5 separate regions of the Homo sapiens genome follow, and regions 2, 3, 4 and 5 are each linked to region 1. The links are contacts of gene promoters, found by promoter capture Hi-C in blood cells and fetal thymus (Javierre and others, 2016). All regions are on one chromosome and are shown on one strand. The core of a region is centred on a gene start or on the middle of the fragment in contact, and the rest is flanking DNA. Distances in the headings are between cores, read along the strand shown. Region 1 holds the start of CNNM2 (cyclin and CBS domain divalent metal cation transport mediator 2). Region 2 overlaps PDCD11 (programmed cell death 11). Region 3 overlaps PCGF6 (polycomb group ring finger 6). Region 4 has its middle 13 kb from the start of RPEL1. Region 5 has its middle 6.2 kb from the start of RPEL1.

The links. Contacts are between HindIII fragments. The CHiCAGO score rates a contact against its expected background, and 5 or more counts as called.
Region 2: a fragment that was not itself captured here is called in contact with the fragment with the promoter of CNNM2 in region 1 in 1 of 17 cell types (neutrophils); the score reaches 5.7 in neutrophils.
Region 3: a contact is called between a fragment that was not itself captured here and the fragment with the promoter of CNNM2 in region 1, in 6 of 17 cell types (endothelial precursors, M0 macrophages, erythroblasts and 3 more). The highest score is 10.8, in endothelial precursors.
Region 4: a fragment that was not itself captured here is called in contact with the fragment with the promoter of CNNM2 in region 1 in 7 of 17 cell types (megakaryocytes, endothelial precursors, erythroblasts and 4 more); the score reaches 11.1 in megakaryocytes.
Region 5: a contact is called between a fragment that was not itself captured here and the fragment with the promoter of CNNM2 in region 1, in 17 of 17 cell types (naive B cells, erythroblasts, endothelial precursors and 14 more). The highest score is 24.7, in naive B cells.

The regions. Positions count from the first base shown.
Region 1 is chr10:102,916,526-102,920,216 of GRCh38, reverse strand. It overlaps CNNM2 (cyclin and CBS domain divalent metal cation transport mediator 2), which reads right to left and starts at 1,923. Exons shown (of 8, transcript NM_017649.5): 1 at 116-1,923. The coding sequence starts at 1,736. It overlaps LOC107984265 (a long non-coding RNA gene), which reads left to right and starts at 1,882. Exons shown (of 3, transcript NR_160733.1): 1 at 1,882-2,049. RefSeq lists silencers at 1,248-1,337, 1,948-2,127 and enhancers at 1,597-2,283, 2,284-2,970. The HindIII fragment of the contact is 7,117 bases long and covers 1-3,691 here.
Region 2 is chr10:103,417,898-103,421,588 of GRCh38, reverse strand. PDCD11 (programmed cell death 11) reads right to left here. Exons shown (of 36, transcript NM_014976.2): 14 at 3,657-3,691; 15 at 2,955-3,149; 16 at 1,881-2,051; 17 at 22-241. Among named protein-coding and RNA genes, the nearest start is that of PDCD11, 23 kb to the right of the region's middle. The HindIII fragment of the contact is 7,810 bases long and covers 1-3,691 here.
Region 3 is chr10:103,317,413-103,321,103 of GRCh38, reverse strand. The region is part of intron 8 of PCGF6 (polycomb group ring finger 6); the gene reads left to right. Among named protein-coding and RNA genes, the nearest start is that of PCGF6, 32 kb to the left of the region's middle. The HindIII fragment of the contact is 3,787 bases long and covers 1-3,659 here.
Region 4 is chr10:103,257,376-103,261,066 of GRCh38, reverse strand. No RefSeq gene overlaps it. Among named protein-coding and RNA genes, the nearest start is that of RPEL1, 13 kb to the right of the region's middle. The HindIII fragment of the contact is 4,680 bases long and covers 1-3,691 here.
Region 5 is chr10:103,237,795-103,241,485 of GRCh38, reverse strand. No RefSeq gene overlaps it. Among named protein-coding and RNA genes, the nearest start is that of RPEL1, 6.2 kb to the left of the region's middle. RefSeq lists an enhancer at 1,094-1,193. The HindIII fragment of the contact is 1,597 bases long and covers 1,049-2,645 here.

The sequences.
Region 1 (3,691 bases), core at 674-3,173:
AGGAGAAATCCCGGTCAACTCGCCTTGGGGGGTTGGTCTGAGGGTAGAGGACTCAAGTAGGGAGGAGGATGGAGAGAGAAAGAGCAAGCCAATGAAAGAGACCAAAATTTCCCACCTTTCTTAAATTCTTCCAGCATAGCGTCCAACTTGGTGTCATTGAAAACAAAGTGCAAGGGGTGGTTATAAAATTTGGTGATGGTTTTCAGGGGGGTACAGTCATCGGGATCCACGAAGGCCAAGTCTTTGACAAACAGCAGGTCCACGATATTGGAGCGCTCCCCTTCAAACACTGGAATGCGGGTGTAGCCGCTCTCCATGATCTCAGACATGGTGTTGAAGTCCAGGATGGCTTCGCCGGTGATCATGAAGCAGTCCCGGAGTGGGGTCATCACGTCCTCCACCGTCTTGGTGCGGAGCTCCAGCGCCCCTTGGATGATGTTCAGCTCCTCCTTAACGAGGTCGTTGTAGGGATCGGTGACCCGGAGCATCTCCAGCAGTTTTTCCCGGTTATAGACGGTGCCTATCTCCTGGCCCAGGACGCAGTCCAGCAGCTTGCTGACCGGGTAGGAAGCGGGGAAGGTCATCATCATGAAAAACTTGGTGAGGAAGATGGTGTTGGCCCCCACAGCCAGGCCATGCCGGGAGCAGATGGCCTGGGGCACGATCTCTCCGAAGATGACGATACCGATGGTGGAGACTACCACGGCCACGAGGCCCGAGCCGGCGATGTCGTCGAGCAGGATGGTGAGCGTGGTGTTGACCAGCACGTTGCCCAGCAGCAGTGAGCACAGCAGGTAGTTGCCCTGCCTGCGCACCGGCTCGATGCGCTTGGCGTAATTCTTCTCCTTCTCCGTGCCGCAGTTCTGCACGATGCGCAGCTCCATCGGGTCCAGGGCCATGAGCCCCAGGTTGAGGCCGCTGAACATGCCCGACAGGCACAGCAGCAGCGAAATGAAGATCACCTGCAGCCAGAAGGGCAGCAGGAACTTCTTCTCTTCGCCTACGATCATCTTGGTGTCCTCGCCGTCGTGGTAAATCCAGGTGGTCTCGGCCCACGGGGGCGGCGGGAGCCCGGCCACCCCCGAGCCACCCTTGCCCCCGACGGCGCCACCCGTGGACCCCGAGCCGCCGGCGCCCAGGGCGGGCGTGGAGAGCGACGTGCACAGGTAATAGGACTTGCTCTTCTCCATCTTGCGTAGCGGTTTGATCTCGATCTCGATGATGCCCGAGGTGCGGCGGTTGAGAATGATGTGGGGCAAGATGATGATGTCTGAGGTGCGGATGCCGCATCGCTGGGGGCCGCTGTCCGGCTCTGGCGGCGCGGGGCCCCCCAGCCCGCGCTCCCCCGGGCTGTGGCGCCGCCGCTCGTGCTCGGTGAAGGCGATGCGGGACCACGTCTCGTTATTGATGTTCTGCCCGTACACCCGCAGCTTGACCCGGGTCCGTTCGCTCACCCGCAGCGCCCCCCCTTCCATGAACGACACGTCGTTCGTGTCCTCCAGTCGCAGCCCGATGATCACCGTCTCCTCATTCTCGCCCACCGCTGCGCAGCCGCCCGCACCGCAGCAGCAGCTCAGCAGGAGCAGCGGCAGCAGCCGCCCCGCAGCCGCCTGCAGGATCCCCCGGCCGCGAGCGCTGAGGCTGCGGCGCGCCGCCATCTTCCAAGTGGGCAGTGCGGCGGCTGCCTGCCCGCCCGCCATCTTTACTTTGGGTTCACAAGCGCCACAGCCAATCATAGGGTGGCTGCTCCAGCTGCGGCTTCATCCTTTCAACCCGGCGGCGCGAGCGCAGGTACCGGCCCCTGGGCGAGACTGCAACGGAGCGTCCGCGGCCAGTGCTCAGCAGTTCGCCTCCCTGACTGACACTGACTCCACCTCAGCCAGCTGAGGAACCCCGAGGCTCGCGGGAGGGAAAGAGGGAGGGAGAGGAGCGCCGGCTGCTCCCGCGAGAGGCAGGCCGACCAGCCAATCACAAGCGGGTGCCCGCCCTCCCAGCCAGGGGGCTGGAATGGGGGCGTGACCGTGTGCCGCTCCGCGGACCAATGGCAAGGTAAGTGGGTGGGGCGACGAGAGCCACCGTCCCCGTCTGCACGCCAAGTTTCCAACTGAAAGGCGCGTGACTCTTGTGTATGTGCGAGGGGAGGGGGCGTGGCCATCTGGGACTCGAGAGCCAGTCAAAGATGAGAGCTGAAGAAAAAGGGGCGTGGCATCCGTCCTGCTGCCAATGGGAAGGAGCCGTCCCTGGGGCCCGCGCTCCCCAGGGGCCCCTGTAGTAGATCCCGGAGCCTGGACCGGCCAGGTTTGGACTAAAGCCCTGCGGCGCAAGGCGGCAGGTTCCCGGTGCACCGGTTACTGGCTCTCCAGTTCTCAATTCGTAGGCACAAAGCCGCGCGCCCTCCTGCCCCGGAAGCCCGAGAAGCCAACTAGAGGCGGCTTGGGATGCACACAGCCTAAAAAGCCGGGGCACCGGCCGCTGTCCCCAACTCCACCTGCGCGGCGCTCCGCCGGGGTAAGCGGCGTCGGTGGCCCCGGCACAGCTGCGGACCAGCAGTCCTCGCGCCTCGAGACTCCTAGGGTACGGGCTCTCTGCGGCTCGCGATCACGTGGCGCCACCTGCGGGCAGCATGAGCGCCCTGCAACGCTTTCCAGGTCGGCGGCGTACCCCAAAAGGTGTGCAGAAGTTACGGATGGAGCGGTCAGGGGGACAGTTCCCCAAATTTCCTAGTCATAGAACCCCTACATATTATTGCTAGGAGTATATACTTCCTAGACCTTTTCCCATATTTACAGAGTGGGAAGGGCCCCGAATCTGTATTCCCAGCAGGAATTCAGGCAAGTTAAGGAAATGGGAGGGGGCAAGCATCCTAAACAGACCCACAGAGGCTCATTCTTAATCACACTGACCAAACTCTGCTAGGGTCTTAGGTCACTCAAGAGCAAAAAGTTCTGGAAACCTAGCTCCCCAGTACTCCCAACGTCACCTGGAGGTGACGAGGTAGCAGAGTAGCTGCCAAATTGGTCTTTTCCTTGAAACTTAAAACATTCAGGCCGGGCGTTGGTGGCTCACGCTTGTAATCCCAGTACTTTGGGAGGCCGAGGCGGGCGGAGCATGAGGTCAGGAGATCGTAGACCACGGTGAAACCCCGTCTCTACTAAAAATACAAAAAATTAACCGGGCATGGTGGCGGGCGCCTGTAGTCCCAGCTACTCGGAGAGGCTGAGGCAGGAGAATGGCGTGAACCCGGGAGGCGGAGCTTGCAGTGAGCCGAGATCGCGCCACTGCACTCCAGCCTGGGTGACACAGGGAGACTCCGTATCAAAAAAAAAAAAAGAAAAAAAAGAAACTTAAAACATTCAAAATGTTTAATGTTTCTCTACCTCTTTTGTATTCTACAAGCACATCCCGCGCCCCCCTACCACCGCTTTTGTAAATGCATCAAACGTCTCTGATTAATTTCTGGTATGAGTAATTTCTGGAATGATTGCAGTGGCCTCCTAACTGATCTTTCCTCTTCGATACCTGTTCCTTTCCCTTCTCAACCCAGCAGCAAGTGATCTTGTCCATGAGATTCTGTTGCTCCCTTGGCTGAAACGCCTCCATTGGCTTCCCATCTCATCCTAGAGAAAGCCAAAGGACCTACAACATCCTACTAGGCTCGAAGGTCTGCTACCTCCCGTTACTTCTCGGACCT
Region 2 (3,691 bases), core at 583-3,082, 500 kb before region 1:
CCTGCCCCACAGGTGCCCCACCTCGGTTGCTCATAAGGCTGCGCACGCCCTGCAGCTCCTCCAGGCACTGATTCAGGAGGAGGAGGCTGGTGATAGCCAAGTCCCCCAGACCACAGTCCGACAGCCGCAGTGACAGCAGCATCCGCTGCTTCTCCTCATCCACATTGGTCACCTTTGCCGCTACTGTCTGGCCCTCAACAAAGTGGTCACTTGTGGAGGTCACAAATTTGTCACTCATGATCTGAACAGAAGAACAGGCAGGAGATGAGAAGAGGAAAGGTCTTCATTAAGACAACCCACTTGATGTTCCTGGAAAGGGGTACGTGAGTAGGGGGAAATGGGGCCTAGGAAGCTCCCCCAAGCCCTCTCTGAACACAGCTCTACTTCCCTTCCATAAAAACAGAGCCTCCGGATTGGCTGGGAGCAGTGGCTCACGCCTGTAATCCCAGCACTTCGGGAGGCCGAGGCGGGCAGATCATGGGGTCAGGAGTTCCAGACCAGCCTGACCAACATGGTGAAACCCTGACTCTACTAAAAATACAAAAATTAGCCAGGAGTGGTGGCATGCACCTGCAATTCCAGCTACTCGGGAGGCTGGGGCAGGAGAATCACTTGAATCCGGGAGGCAGAGGTTGCTGTAAGCCGAGATTGCGCCACTGCACTCCAGCCTGGGCGACAGAGTGAGACTCCATCTCAAAAAAAAAAAACAAAAACAAAAACAAACAACAACAACAAAAAAAACAGAGCCTCCAGGAGAGGGCACCCAGTCAAGAAGGCACATTCACAGCAAGCCAGGCAGACACCAGGGCTGTCCTCACCCCTAACAACCCACGGGAACCCTCTGCCCCTCACTGGGCTTGTTTCTGGGGCCCTCCCCTCTGCTCCCATTTTTAAAATGTTTCTGGCAGGGGATGCAAATGAGATTTTCCCAGGCAAAACACCAGGGAGACAGGCCTACAGAGGGGAAGAAATACTGATGAATGATCTGCAGCAGCAATCAGCTGCACGCCATTTGCTCGCTGTCTTCCATGACTTTGGTGAGTCCCATCCCCTCAATAGGCCTCGGCTGACGTGCCAGGCACACCAGGAGGCTCTGCTAGGGGACTGCTGGGATTGTTCCCATCTGAAAGTGCAGGACTCAATGACATGGGGGTGGGGGAGGTAATAATTTCAAAGACATTCTGGTCCCTTAACACCTCAAAAACCTCAGAAGTCTGCAAAACCTGTACTCAGTAGCTCAGGATGATCAATTTCCCTGTCTAAGTGTGCTGAGAGAATAAAAACAAGTGCAGTCATCTTCACACTGGAGACTAAGGCCTTCAATGTGTAGTGTGGAGTGGGAAAGGTGTCCCTTCCTCCAGATGGTCACACAGCTGGGCGAGAGGAACATGGGCCAAAAGCTCAGCTGCACTCACCCCTCCCAGGTGCCTTTATGTCACACACACCTTAAGAGGTACCCCTGAAAATCTTTCAAAAGAGTAAAGTATCCTTGGCCAGGTGCGGTGGCTCACACCTGTAATCGCAGCACTTTGGGAGGCCGAGGCAGGTGGATCACTTAAGGTCAGGAGTTCAAGACCAGCCTGGCCAACATGGTAAAACTCTGTCTCTACTACTCAAAAAAAAAAAAAAAAAAAAGCCTGGCATGTTGGTGGGCACCTGTAATCCCAGCTACTTGGAAGGCAGAAGCAGGAAAATCGCTTGAGCCCAGGAGGCGGAGGTTACAGCGAGCAGAGATCACACCACTGCAAGCCAGCCTGGGCGACAGAACAAGACTGTCTCAAAAAAAAAAGGAATAAAGTATCCTACTCCTCCCTACCCGCCCTCAGGTTCTGTGACCTTGTATCTCTCCTCAAAGCCCTTGTACATGGAGTTGAACTTACAGCTTTTGGGGCCAGTCCGCTAAGACCTGAGGGGAACTGGATGAACACGCCATAGTCCTTGATGCTCTTCACAAAACCAATGAGCAGCATTCCAGGATGGATTTCTGAGAAGTTCTTGGGATCCTGGCCACCTTCTACTGTGGAGACCAAGGCTGGCTTCCTGCAAAGAAGCTAGTGGTACTTCATCAAGGAATGTTCCAGAAAGGGCAGATGAAATGTCCATCTCTCCCATCTCCTTTCTCCACAGAGAAGGACAGAACTGCAGGCTGATCTCTGCTGCTACAGCGATTCTCTAAGTGTGCAGACCAGCAGCATCAACATCGCCTGAAACTTAGGAGAAATGCAAGTTCTCAAGCACCACCTAGACCTACTGAATTAGAAACTTTGGTGTGGCCCAGCCATCTGCATGGCCCAACTGCACACTACAGCTGAGAATCACGGTTTTATTCCATTCCCGATTCACTAATCTGCAGATTACTAGAGGACACCAAAAAGGGATGGCTCATCCCCCTGGTCTGGCAGCTGGATCAGCCATCACACAATCCTCTACTACTCCCTCTTTACACTGATGAACTCATTTTCCCTCCTCTGCCCATTTTTACTCCCAGGAGAATGAACTTTACATTCTGTGAGAAGCTCCTTCAAAGCACCCATGCAAAGACCAAAGGGAATATTCCTGAGCCTATAGCCCCGCGGGGAGAAGGCATAGGGGAAAAAAAAAAAGAGGAAAGGGGGACAGAAGCCACCTTATTATTGGTTCTAACCCAAGGGGCAGGCACTGAAAGCCCCAAGAAAACTAGATGTGCTCCCAAGCACCCCACTGGGCCTCCTTCTCCAGCCTCCGAGAGTCCCCCTCTCTGCAACCTTTCAGGCTACTCCGCCCTGACCACCAGCATCTGCTGGCAGCACTTACTCAGGCCTGCTCTTACTTTCCATAGCACAGGCTTCATCACTGGTTTGGTTTTGTGGAGATATTTCTGAGGTCAAATAGCTGTCTAATTTCCCCAGAATTTCCCATCCAAGCACCCATGGCCCCCCACCTTCCTCTGCTCCACAGATACCAGTCAAGGATACAACACGCCCCTCGCTCTGGCTCAGACACAGGACTCGGTGAAGGATGTCACCTGCCTGGAGCCAATGATGTAACAATGGGCCGTTGGCAACGTGGTCCGACAGATGAGATGTGGGGAGGAAAGCACGGATGTTGTGGGGCAGGACAGCCACCTCCAGCCCATCTTTGGTCTTCTCTAAAACCTTCACATCTACCAACTACCCAGGGAAGAGAAAGACAAAAATAGCACTTGTCATGAACAGAGAACAACCTGGTCTGGATTAGGCAGGGCTTGGAGGCATTAAACTCCGGCACCAAGGATCTCTAAGAGGCAGCTTTCTTCCAAACCCCACCCACCACCCCAACCACCCAGCATGCATGTACGTGCACATTCACCAGGACTCATGGGTGGACCCATCGCACTCCTCTCTCAAGTCCCTCCACGGAGCCCCAGGAAAGCCAGAACTGCAGGCTGGCCCTAGGGACCCGAGAGGAAAGAGGTCAGCAGCCCACTGCTGAAAAGCCTCACTGTAACAGGACTTTCAGGGACAGCTTCCATTTGTTCTGACACACAGGAAGGAATGCGTATGAACCCCTCTAGCCCCAAAATCTTATCTAGCTACCTCTATCTTTCCGCTTCGTGGGTTCCAATATGCCATGTGTTAGTGGTTCCCTGCTCTCTGCCACTGTAACATAAAATAGCTTGTCCAGAGAAGTCCACGTACCTGCCCAATGTTAATGGCTTTTCCTTTCTTCTGAC
Region 3 (3,691 bases), core at 517-3,016, 400 kb before region 1:
GTATAGCTGGTAATGTTCATAAATTATTATTTAACCAAAATGTTAGAATTATCAAATATACAGACCCATTAATTGGGGACTAAAATTGTTGAGGCCTAAATTTAAGGTAGAGTAAGTAATTAAGAGTTACTTCTAATATGAACAAAACATTGAGCTGGTTTGCTAGTCATCAGACTACAATTCTTGGTGTCCTGCAGTCACGAGCCTGCTATGCTGACTTTCTTTGAACCAGTTAGTCCCAGGTGGGAAATGTGTGCATGGTTTACAGATATGTGACCTTCATTTATGGTTATTTACTAACAGGAACGAGTAATTCCCACGGGACTGTTAAACTTTAAAGTTTTTTGTGGCAGATCAAATTTTAAAAACAAGACAATTCCAAAAGTTTAAAAAATACAGATCTTTTTTTTTTTGAGACAAAGTTTCACTGTTTTTGCCCAGGATGGAGTGCAATGGTGCGATGATGTCGGCTCACCGCAACCTCCGCCTCCTGGGTTCAAGCGATTATCCTGCCTCAGCCTCCTGAGTAGCTGGGATTACAGGCATGCGCCACCATGCCTGGCTAATTTTCTAGTTTTTTTAGTAGACAGAGTTTCTCCATGTTGGCCAGGCTGGTCTTGAACTCCCAGCCTCAGGCAATCTGCCCACCTCGGCCTCCCAAAGTGCTGGGATTACAAGTGTGAGCCACCGCGCCCGGCCATCATGTGTTCTTAAGAAAGATTTAAGTTCATTTAAAATTTAGAGATCAATAATTATCCAAATATGTTTCTTTCTCATAGAGACTCCAGTGTCTCAGGGTTACTGTGGTTGATTTAGTGGTATTTACTCTTTGATGTCTTATTGTATTTTGCTTTGTTTGATATTCAGACCTTATTTTGCTTTTATGAGATGAAATTTAGAACATACACCTCACATTGATCACTAAAAATTCTTCTATAAGATGTGATATTTGATTTTGTTAATCCTGCCATAACTAATTCCATCTTAAAAGTTAGGCTGGCCAGGCATGGTGGCTCATACCTGTAATCTCAGCATTTTGGGAGGCTGAGGCGGGCGGATCACGAGGTCAAGAGATGGAGACCATCCTGGCCCACATGGTGAAACCCCATCTCTACTAAAAATACAAAAATTAGCTGGGCATGGTGGTATGCACCTGTATAGTCCCAGCTACTCGGGAAGATGAGGCAGGAGAATCACATGAATCCAGGAGGTGGAGGTTGCGGTGAGCCGAGATCGCACCACTGCACTACAGCCTGGCGACAGAGCAAGACTCCATCTCAAAAAAGTTAGGTTATTATTATTACTTATTTGGTGTATGATATTAAGCCTTCTATTAAATTTAGTTTCCAAATAATTTTTTAAGGACTAATATATGATGTTTCCATACCATTTATTATATATTGTTACTAAATTGAGGGTCTATGTATTTGACCTTAGGAGTACAAAGATGAGACAAAATTCATGCCATCAGGGGACTCAGAATTTTGTAGGAAAGATATATAAGTAAACAACTAACTAACAATAGGATGTAATGAATGCAACAGTGGAGATAACACAAAAGTGAATGATTTAACTCAGGAATGGGTTTGAAGAACAAATAGGAATTTGCCAGACACAGAAAAAAAGAACTTAGTAGCAAAGAAGAGTATGTATGGCCAGGTCCGGTGGCTCACGCTTGTAATCCCAGCACTTTGGGAGGCCGAGGCGGGCACATCACAAGGTCAAGAGATCGAGACCATCCTGGCCAACATGGTGAAACCCCGTCTCTACTAAAAATACAAAAAAAAAATTAGCTGGGCATGGTGGTACGCCTGTAGTCTCAGCTACTCAGGAGGCTGAGGCAGGAGAATCGCTTGAACCCAGGAGGCGGAGGTGGCAGTGAGCCGAGATCCCACCACTGCATTCCAGCCTGGGCGGCAGAGTGAGACTCCATCTCGAAAAGAAGAGTATGTATGATCAAAGGAATGAGCCAGTGTGGCTTATCAAAGCACACTGATTGAAAAATCTTAACTTGGAAGCTCTAGCATGATCTTGCTTTTAAAAAGATGAGGACTTTTTCTCCTTTTAATAAGACTACTTTCATGGTCTGATTTCTGCTCTGAGATTCAAAAATATTTTTGTTATCTCTTCTTGATACTCCAGAGGGTAAGATATTATGCACAAAAGAGTTAACGTATCAGCCTTGAGGCTGCTGTCGTTAGAAGGGCCTGCTTACAAAGCTGGCCTTTGGCTATCGAGGAACTAGGCCTGCAAAAAGTTTCCTACACTAATGTGAAAAGTTTTCTAACTGCAATTTGGTAGTTGTTAGACAGCGAGTGCCAACAAAACCAACTTTTTTTTTCTTTTTTCTTTTTTTTTTTCAGACAGAGTCTCGCTCTGTCGCCCAGGCTGGAGTGCAGTGGTGCCATCTCAGCTCACTGCAGCCTCTGCCTCCCAGGTTCAAGCCATTCTCTGCCTCAGCCTCCTGAGTAGCTGGGATTACAGGCGACCGCCACCATGCCCGGCTAATTTTTTTGTATTTTTGGTAGAGACAGGGTTTTACCATCTTGGCCAGGCTGGTCTTGAACTGCTGACCTTGTGATCCGCCTGCCTCAGCCTCCCAAAGTGCTAGGATTACAGGTGTGCGCCACCGCACCCGCACTTTTTTCTTTTTTTTTTTTTGAGATGGAGTCTCCCTCTGTTACCCAGGCTAGAGTGCAGTGGCGCGATCTCGGTTCACTACAACTTCTGACTCCCAGGTTTGAGTGATCCTCCTGCCTCAGCCTCCTGAGTAGCTGGGATTACAGGTGTCTGCCACCACACCCAGCTTATTTTTGTATTTTTTGTAGAGACAGGGTTTTGCCATGTTGGCCAAGCTGGTCTCGAACTCCTGACCTCAGGTGATCTGCCCGTCTCGGCCTCCCAAAGTGCTGGGATTACAGGCGTGAGCCACCGCACCCAGTTGATCCCATTTTTTTTAAAGCAAAAAATGAATAACAGAAAAACCCACATGCACACATAGTGTTCTAGGACCATACACATCAAACTCTTAGAAACTGACCAACCCCAGCTGGGTGCGGTGGCTCATGCCTGTAATCCCAGCACTTTGGGAGGCTGAAGTGGGCGGATTGCCTGAGTTCGGGAGTTCGAGACCAGTCTGACCAAGATGAGAAACCCCGTGTCTACTAAAAATACAAAATTAGCCATGCGTGGTGATGCATGCCTGTAATCCCAGCTACTTGGGAGGCTGAGGCAGGAGAATTGCTTGAACCCAGGAGAGGCAGAGTTTGCAGTGAGCCAAGGTTGCGTCATTGCCCTCCAGCCTGGACAACAAGAGCGAAACTCTGTCTCAAAAAAAAAACAGAAAAAAGAAACTGACCACCCTCTAGGGGCTAGGATTGAAGTGAGGATTTATCATTCTACTTTCTACAATTTTTTTTAAGTTTGTTACTATATACCTGTCTTTTTATTTATTTATTTATTTTGAGATGAGGTTTCGTTTTGTTGCCCAGGCTTGGGGTGGAGCGGTACGATCATATCTCACTACCTCAAACTCAAGCAGTCCTCCTGCCTCAGCTTCCCAAGCAGCTAAGATTATAGATGAGAGCCACAGTACCCAGCACCTCTGTGTTTTCTGAATTTGTTACAGTGAATTATTTTGTAAAGATTTTTGTAAAGCTTTTTACAAAAAATTTAAAGATCTGTAAAAATT
Region 4 (3,691 bases), core at 470-2,969, 340 kb before region 1:
GTTCCTCCCATAACACGTGGGAATTCAAGATGAGATTTGGGTGGGGACACAGCCAAACCATATCATTCCCCCCTGGCCCCTCCCAAATCTCATGTCCTCACATTTCAAAACCAATCATGCCTTCCCAACAGTCCCCCAAAGTCTTAACTCATTTCAGCATTTACTCCAAAGTCCACAGTCCAAAGTCTCATCTGAGACAAGGCAAGTCCTGTCTGCCTATGAACCTGTAAAATCAAAAACAAGTTAGTTACTTCCTACATATAATGGGGGTACAGGCACTGGGTAAATACAGTTGTTGCAAATTGGAGAAATTGGCCAAAACAAAGGGGCTACAGGCCCTAGGCAAGTTTGAAATCCAGTGGGGCAGTCATATCTTTTGTGTGTGTGTGTGTGTGTGATGGAGTCTCGGTCTGTCGCCCAGGCTGGAGTGCAGTGGCAGGATCTCGGCTCGCTGCAAGCTCCGCCTCCTGGGTTCACACTATTCTCCTGCCTCAGCCTCCAGAGTAGCTGGGACTACAGGCACCCACCACCACGCCCGGCTAATTTTTTGTATTTTTAGTAGAGATGGGGTTTCACTGTGTTAGCCAGGGTGGTCTTGATCTCCTGACCTCATGATCCACCTGCCTCAGCCTCCCAAAGTGCTGGGATTACAGGTGTGATCTACCACGCCCGGCCCCCAGTCATATCTTAAAGCTCCAAAATGATCTCCTTTGACTCTGTGACTCACTTCCAGGACATGCTGATGCGAGAGGTAGGCTCCCATGGCTTTGGGAAGCTCTGCCTCTGTGGTTTTGCAGGGTATATCCGCCCTCTTGGCTGCTTTCACAGGCTGATGTTGAATGTCCGATTTTTCCAGGTGCAAAGTGCAAGCTGTCGGTTGATCTATTCTGGAGTCTGGAGGATGGTGGCCCTCTTCTCACAGCTCCACTAGGTGGTGCTCCAGCAGGGACTCTACATGGGGGCTTGGACCCCACATTTCCCTTCTGCACTGTCCTAGAAGAGGTTCTCCATGAGGGCCCCGCCCCTGCAGCAAACTTCTGCCTGGGCATTCAGACATTTCCATACATTTTCTGAAATCTAGGCAGAGGTTCCCAAACCTCAATTCTTGACTTCTGTTCACCTGCAGGCTCAACACCACGTAGAAGCTGCCAGGGCTTGGGGCTTCCACCCTCTAAAGCAACAACCTGAGCTGCAACTTGGCCCCTTTTAGTCACAGCTGCAGCAGCTGGGTTGCAGGGCACAAAGTCCCTAGACTGCACACATCAGAGGGACCCTGGGCCTGGCCCACTAAACTATTTTTTTTCTCCTAAACCTCCAGGCCTGTGATTGGGGGTGGGGGGTCTGCTGTGAGGACCTCTGACCTGCCCTGGAGACATTTTTCCCACTGTCAGAGATTAATATTAGGCTCCTTATTACTTAAGCAAATTTCTGCAGCTGGCTTGAATTGCTCCTCAGAAAATGGGTTTTTCTTCTTTATTGCTTGTCAGACTACAAATTTTGCAAACTTTTATGCTCTGTTTCCCTTTTAAAACTGAATGCTTTTAACAACACCCAAGTCACCTCTTGAATGCTTTGCTGCTTAGAAATTTCTTCTGCCAGAAACCCTAAATCACCTTTCTCAAGTTCAAAGTTCCACAAATCTCCAGGGCAGGGGCAAAATGCCACCAGTCTCTTTGCTAAAACATAACAAGAGTCACCTTTGCTCTAGTTCCCAATAACTTCCTCATCTCCATCTGAGACCATCTCAGCCTGGATTTCATTGTCCATATCATTATCAGCATATTGGTCAAAGCCATTCAACAAGTCTCTAGGGAGTTCCAAACTTTCCCACATTTTCCTGTCTTCTTCTGAGCCCTCCAAATTATTCCAACCTCTGCCTGTTACCCAGTTCCAAAGTTGCTTCCACATTTTCGGGTATCTTTTCAGTAGCACCCCACTCTCGGTACCAATTTACTGTATTAGTCCATTTTCACACTGCTGATAAAGACATACCCGAGACTGGACAATTTACTAAAGAAAGAGGTTTATTGGACTTACAGTTTCACATGGGTGGGGAGGCCTCACAATCATGGCGGAAGGTAAAAGGCATGTCTCACATGGCAGCAGACAAGAGTGGAGAGCTTGTTCAGGGAAACTCCCATTTTTTAAAACCATCAGATCTTGTGAGACTTACTCATTATCATCAGAACAGCACAAGAAAGACCCACCCCCATGATTCAATCACCTCCCACCATGTTCCTCCCATAACATGTGGGAATTCAAGATGAGATTTGGGTGGGGGCAGAGCCAAGCCATATCAAATATCTACTGGCAACATGTAGAATGTGTATTAAAATGCAGAATATGGGCCAGGCATGGTGGCTCATGCCTGTAATCCCAGCACTTTGGGAGGCCGAGGCAGGCAGATCACCTGAGGTCGGGAGTTTGAGACCAGCCTGGCCAACATGGTGAAACCCTGTCTCTACTAAAAAAAAAAAACAGAATTAGCCAGGCGTGGTGGCACATGCCTGTAATCCCGGCTACTTGGGAGGCTGAGGCAGGAGAATCACTTGAACCCAGGAGGCAGAGGTTGCAGTGAGCCGAGATCACGCCATTGCACTCCAGCCTGGGCAACAAGACCGAAACTCCGTCTCAAAAAAAAAAAAAAAATGCAGAATATGTGTGTGTTAAAATCTGCATCCAAGGTTGACATCTAAAGACTATTTGGAAAGCCTTGTGCAGTAAGGGAGGGGAGGGGGTTACAAAGATGTAATATGTAAAGCACAGCCCCTGCCCTTCATTGGGTGGTGGGAGGAAATGTGTGAAAGAAGCAGTCTGCTTAGAACAGCAAGGGAGTCCTTAACGTGGCTTTCTGGGGACAACAGAAAAAGGAATTTGGCTATGTGGGCTGGTCCTGGTGCAATCCTTCTTTATAAGAAGTGTTATGACTTAGACCCCACTGGTTTCACTTGTAGTGCTATAGGGGGCCCCTGGTGGGCCCAAAACACAGACAGAGGAGAAAAAAGGTAGGACCAGAAAAAAAGAAGGAAAGTGGGAAGGAAAGAAAGTGAAGAAGAAAGTGAGAGTAAAGGATGTGCATTACCAAAGAATCTAGCATTTACATCCTACTTCCTAATATAAACAACATTTTCACAAGAATCCTGTGAGGTGACCATTGATATTTTTATTCTGTGGATAAAAGTAAAAAAGGGAGAGAGGTCAAGGGACTTGCCCAAGGTCATAAATTTAGGTTTCTAACTCAAGACCTTGTACTGTGTTCTCCATTGCACCAGTTGTCTCTACACCAAGAGAAAGTGCCTCAACTCCTGAACTATGGGTTTCTTTTCCCAGTTTATAAGGCTATTTAAAATCTTCTTTAAAACTATATGCCAGGCGCGGTGGCTCACTCCTGTAATCCCAGCACTTTGGGAGGCCGAAGCCAGAGGATGACCTGAGGTCAGGAGTTTGAGACCAATCTGGCCAATATGGTGAAACCCCGTCTCTACTAAAAATACAAAAGTTAGCCAGGCGTGATGGTGGCCACCTGTAATCCCAGCTACTCAGGAGGCTGAGCCAGGAGAATTGCTTGAACCCGGGAGGCAGAGGTTGCAGTGAGCTGAGATGGCGTCACTGCACTCCAGCCTGGGTGACAGAGTGAGACTCTGTCCTTAAAAAACAAACAAAAAAAATAGCTGGGCATTGTGGCAGACAC
Region 5 (3,691 bases), core at 598-3,097, 320 kb before region 1:
TCCCCTGCCTGGATGCTGCACAGCCCCGCGAGTGCCATGTGGGCCACTTTGGCTGTTACAAAGTCCAGGCTATTTGTCTGCTCAGCAGGGTACTTGTCTCCTAGGAGCTGGGGCATGTCCTGCAGCCCCTAGCTCATGAGTGGGTATTAGCATCAGGGTCCTTGTTGTGGTTTGATCTCTGAATCCTTTCCGTTACAGAGATCCTTCATGCCTTCCCTACATACAGTGACCCTCTTTTTCTCCAGGCCGTCATTGATACTGCCTCTAGACTGGGCTTTCCAATGCATTTCATCAGGGCTTTCCCAAAGGATGCCTCACTGCCTATAAACTCAGCTCCCATTTCCTTAGCACAATGTGGTCCTGACCAAAATTTCTGCTTCGGGCCAGGCGCAGTGGCTCACGCCTGTAATCCCAGCACTTTGGGAGGCCAAGGAGGGTGTATCACCTGAGGCCAGGAGTTCAAGACCAGCCTGGCGAACATGGTGAAACCCCATCTCTACTAAAAATACAAAAATTAGCCAGGCGTGGTGGTGCACGCCCGTAGTCCCAACTACTTGGGAGGCTGAGGCAGGAGAATCGCTGGAATCCGGGAGGTGGAGGTTGCAGTGAGCTGAGATTACGCTACTGCACTCTAGCCTGGGCGACAGAGCAAGACTCTGTCTCAAAAAATAAAAATAAAAATAATTTTCTTCTTCATCCCAATCCCCTCTCCTTCCTCCTGCCATGTGCCCCGTACTCTAGCCCAGTGTTTCTCAGTGTAGTCTGTGGACCATCTTCTTCAGAATCATTCAGGACATGATTCCTGGGCACGAGACCTACTGAATGGAAAATGCAAATTCCTGTGCTCCAGAACTACTGAGCCAGCTGTTGCTGATACCTCGGAACCTGCATTTTAATGATACCGGGGCTGATTTTTGTGTAGAATACAGTTTAAGAACTACTGCTCTGCCAAACCAGATTGTTGAGTTTCCTGACTGTATCTGGGTAGTCACACCTTTCTCACTTCCTGCATTTTGCAGCCTGGTGCACTCTGCTTCTCCTTTAAGCTTCGTCTCACACATCAGCTCTTCTGTGCTGCTTTCCCCGAATCCAGGTTGCTTTCTCTGTGTCCACGTGATCCATTGCACTTTCTACCCACCTCTGCTATAGTATCTTCTTATGTCGTCAGAGCTAATTATTGGCTCCTTCACTTGTTTGTGAACTCCCTAAGGACCATGGATGTTTCATTTTGAATCCCCAGAGCCTAGCAAAATACCTGGCAGGGAGAGGGCATTTAATGCATGTTGCTGAATGAATGAATGAATGAATGAATGAATGAAGAATGAATGGAGACCAGGTCATAGTCTAAATCAGAAAAGTAGATTAAGGCCAGGCATGGTGGCTCACGCCTGTAATCCCAGCACTTTGGGAGACCAAGGCGGGAGAATGGTTTGAGCCTAGGAGTTTGAGACCAACCTGGGCAACATAGTGAGACCTCATCCCTACAGAAAATAAAAAAAGGCCGGGCACAGTGGCTCACACCTGTAATCCCAGCACTTTGGGAGACTGAGGCAGGCGGATCAAGAGGTGAAGAGATCGAGACCATCCTGGCCAACATGGTGAAATCCCATCTCTACTAAAAATACAAAAATTAGCTGGGCATGGTGGGGCGTGCCTGTAATCCCAGCTACTCAGGAGGCCGAGGCAGGAGAATCGCTTGAACCCAGGTGGTGGAGGTTGCAGTAAGCCGGGATCGTGCCACTGTGCTCCAGCCTGGCAACAGAGCGAGACTTTGTCCCCCCCCCAAAAAAAAAAAAATTAGATGGGCATGGTGGCACCTGCCTGTAGTCCCAGCTACTCAGGAGGCTGAGGTGGGAGGATCGCTGAAACCCAGGAAGTCAAGGTTGCAGTGAGCTGTGATTGTGCCACTGCACTCCACCCTGGGCAACAGAGCAAGACCCTGTCTCAACAAAAAAAAAAAAAAAAAAAAAAGGAAATGTAGATTAAACCCATTATGTAGTGGACAGAGCCACATTTATCAGGCAGACTCCTGCTTCACAGTTTCAGTCTAACTTTTTCTAAATGTTTGATCTTTTCTTGAGGAAGCTATGGGTTTACACTGTGGCAAAAGTAGTTAGGTAAGTTATGAGCTAGGACTAAGAAATATTTTTTAAAATCCCAATGTGTTTGTGTGGGAGGCCAAGAAACAGCTTTCTCTTGATCTGTCTCTGAGGATAGATCCTACCAGACTTTTTCTCCACCCTAGACCTGTTCCCGAGGATTATCCATTTCAGAATTCTTGACCTTCTAACTCTAGTGACGTAACTGCCTCAGTCAGGCACGCCCTGGACCTTGTCATGATTGTCCAGCTCAGAAATGCCAACAAACTGGTCTCTGGCCGGAACTTCCTTGCCATCGGTTTACTCCCTTCCCCTACTCCCAGCTCCCTGTATCTCTTTCCCAAACCCCAGCCCATGAGTGCCTCCTTTCTTCATTCTTGTCCACAGGGTGGTGCTCCTCTTGCTGTCTGAGGCCAGTCCCTCAGTGTGTGCTGGATTCCATCCTTCCCAATTCCTCGGCGCTCGGCTCCATCCTCAGCAGCACACTTCCCTCCATCCTCACTCTCTCCTTTCTGGCTTTTCCTTCCATACATAAACAGTCAAGCTTCTCTCACCTCAGAAAGGTACCTCTCTCTAGCTATAAGCCAGTCTTGGAAGTTCACTTCACAGCAGAGCTTATCAAAAGAGCAGGCCCTGTTTGCTACCCACTCACCCTTAACTCCATTTCTGGCCCCACCTCTCCAGTTGTTCTTCCCAAGGCCACAGCAACCTCCTAATTGCACAATCTAGCAAGTAGCTTTTTGTTTGTTTCTTTGTTTGTTTGTTTTTGAGATGGAATTTCACTCTTGTTGCCCAGGCTGGAGTGCAATGGCACGATCTCGGTTCACTGCAGCCTCAGCCTCCCGGGTTCAAGCAATTCTCCTGCCTCAGCCTCTCAAGTAGCTGGGACTACAGGCGCCCGCCACCATGCCCAGATAATTTTGTGTATATTTTTTAGTAGAGACAGGGTTTCACCATGTTGGCCAGGCTGGTCTTGAACTTCTAGCCTCAGGTGATCCGCCTGCCTGGGCCTCCCAAAGTGCTGGGATTACAGGCGTGAGCCACCGCACCCGGCTGCAGGTAGTTTTCAATTGCTATTTTGCTTGCACTTTGTGTGGCATTTGACACTATGAACTACTCCTGTCTTCTGGAACCTCTGTTGTTCTTTTGTTCTTCCTTCGTTTGCAAAGCACTCTCTTTGTTCCTTTTTTTTTTTTTTGAGACGGAGTCTCACTCTGTCACCCAGGCTGAAAGGTAGTGGTGCAATCTTAGCTCATAGCAACTTCTGCCTCCCAGGTTCAAATGATTCTCATGCCTCAGCCTCCCGAGTAGCTGGGACTACAAGTGCCCACCACCAATCCTGGCTACTTTTTGTATTTTTAGTAGAGATGGGTTTTCGCCATGTTGGCCAGGCTGGTCTTGAACTCCTGACCTTAGGTGATCTATCTGTCTGCTTTGGCCTCTCAAAGTGTTGGGATTACAGGCGTAAAAAAAAGACTGCACCCAGTCTTTTTTTTTTAGAGACAGGGCCTGGCCGGGCCTGGTGGCTCACGCCCGTAATCCCGACACTTTGGGAGGCCGAGGTGGGCGGATCACGAGGTCAGGAGGTCGAG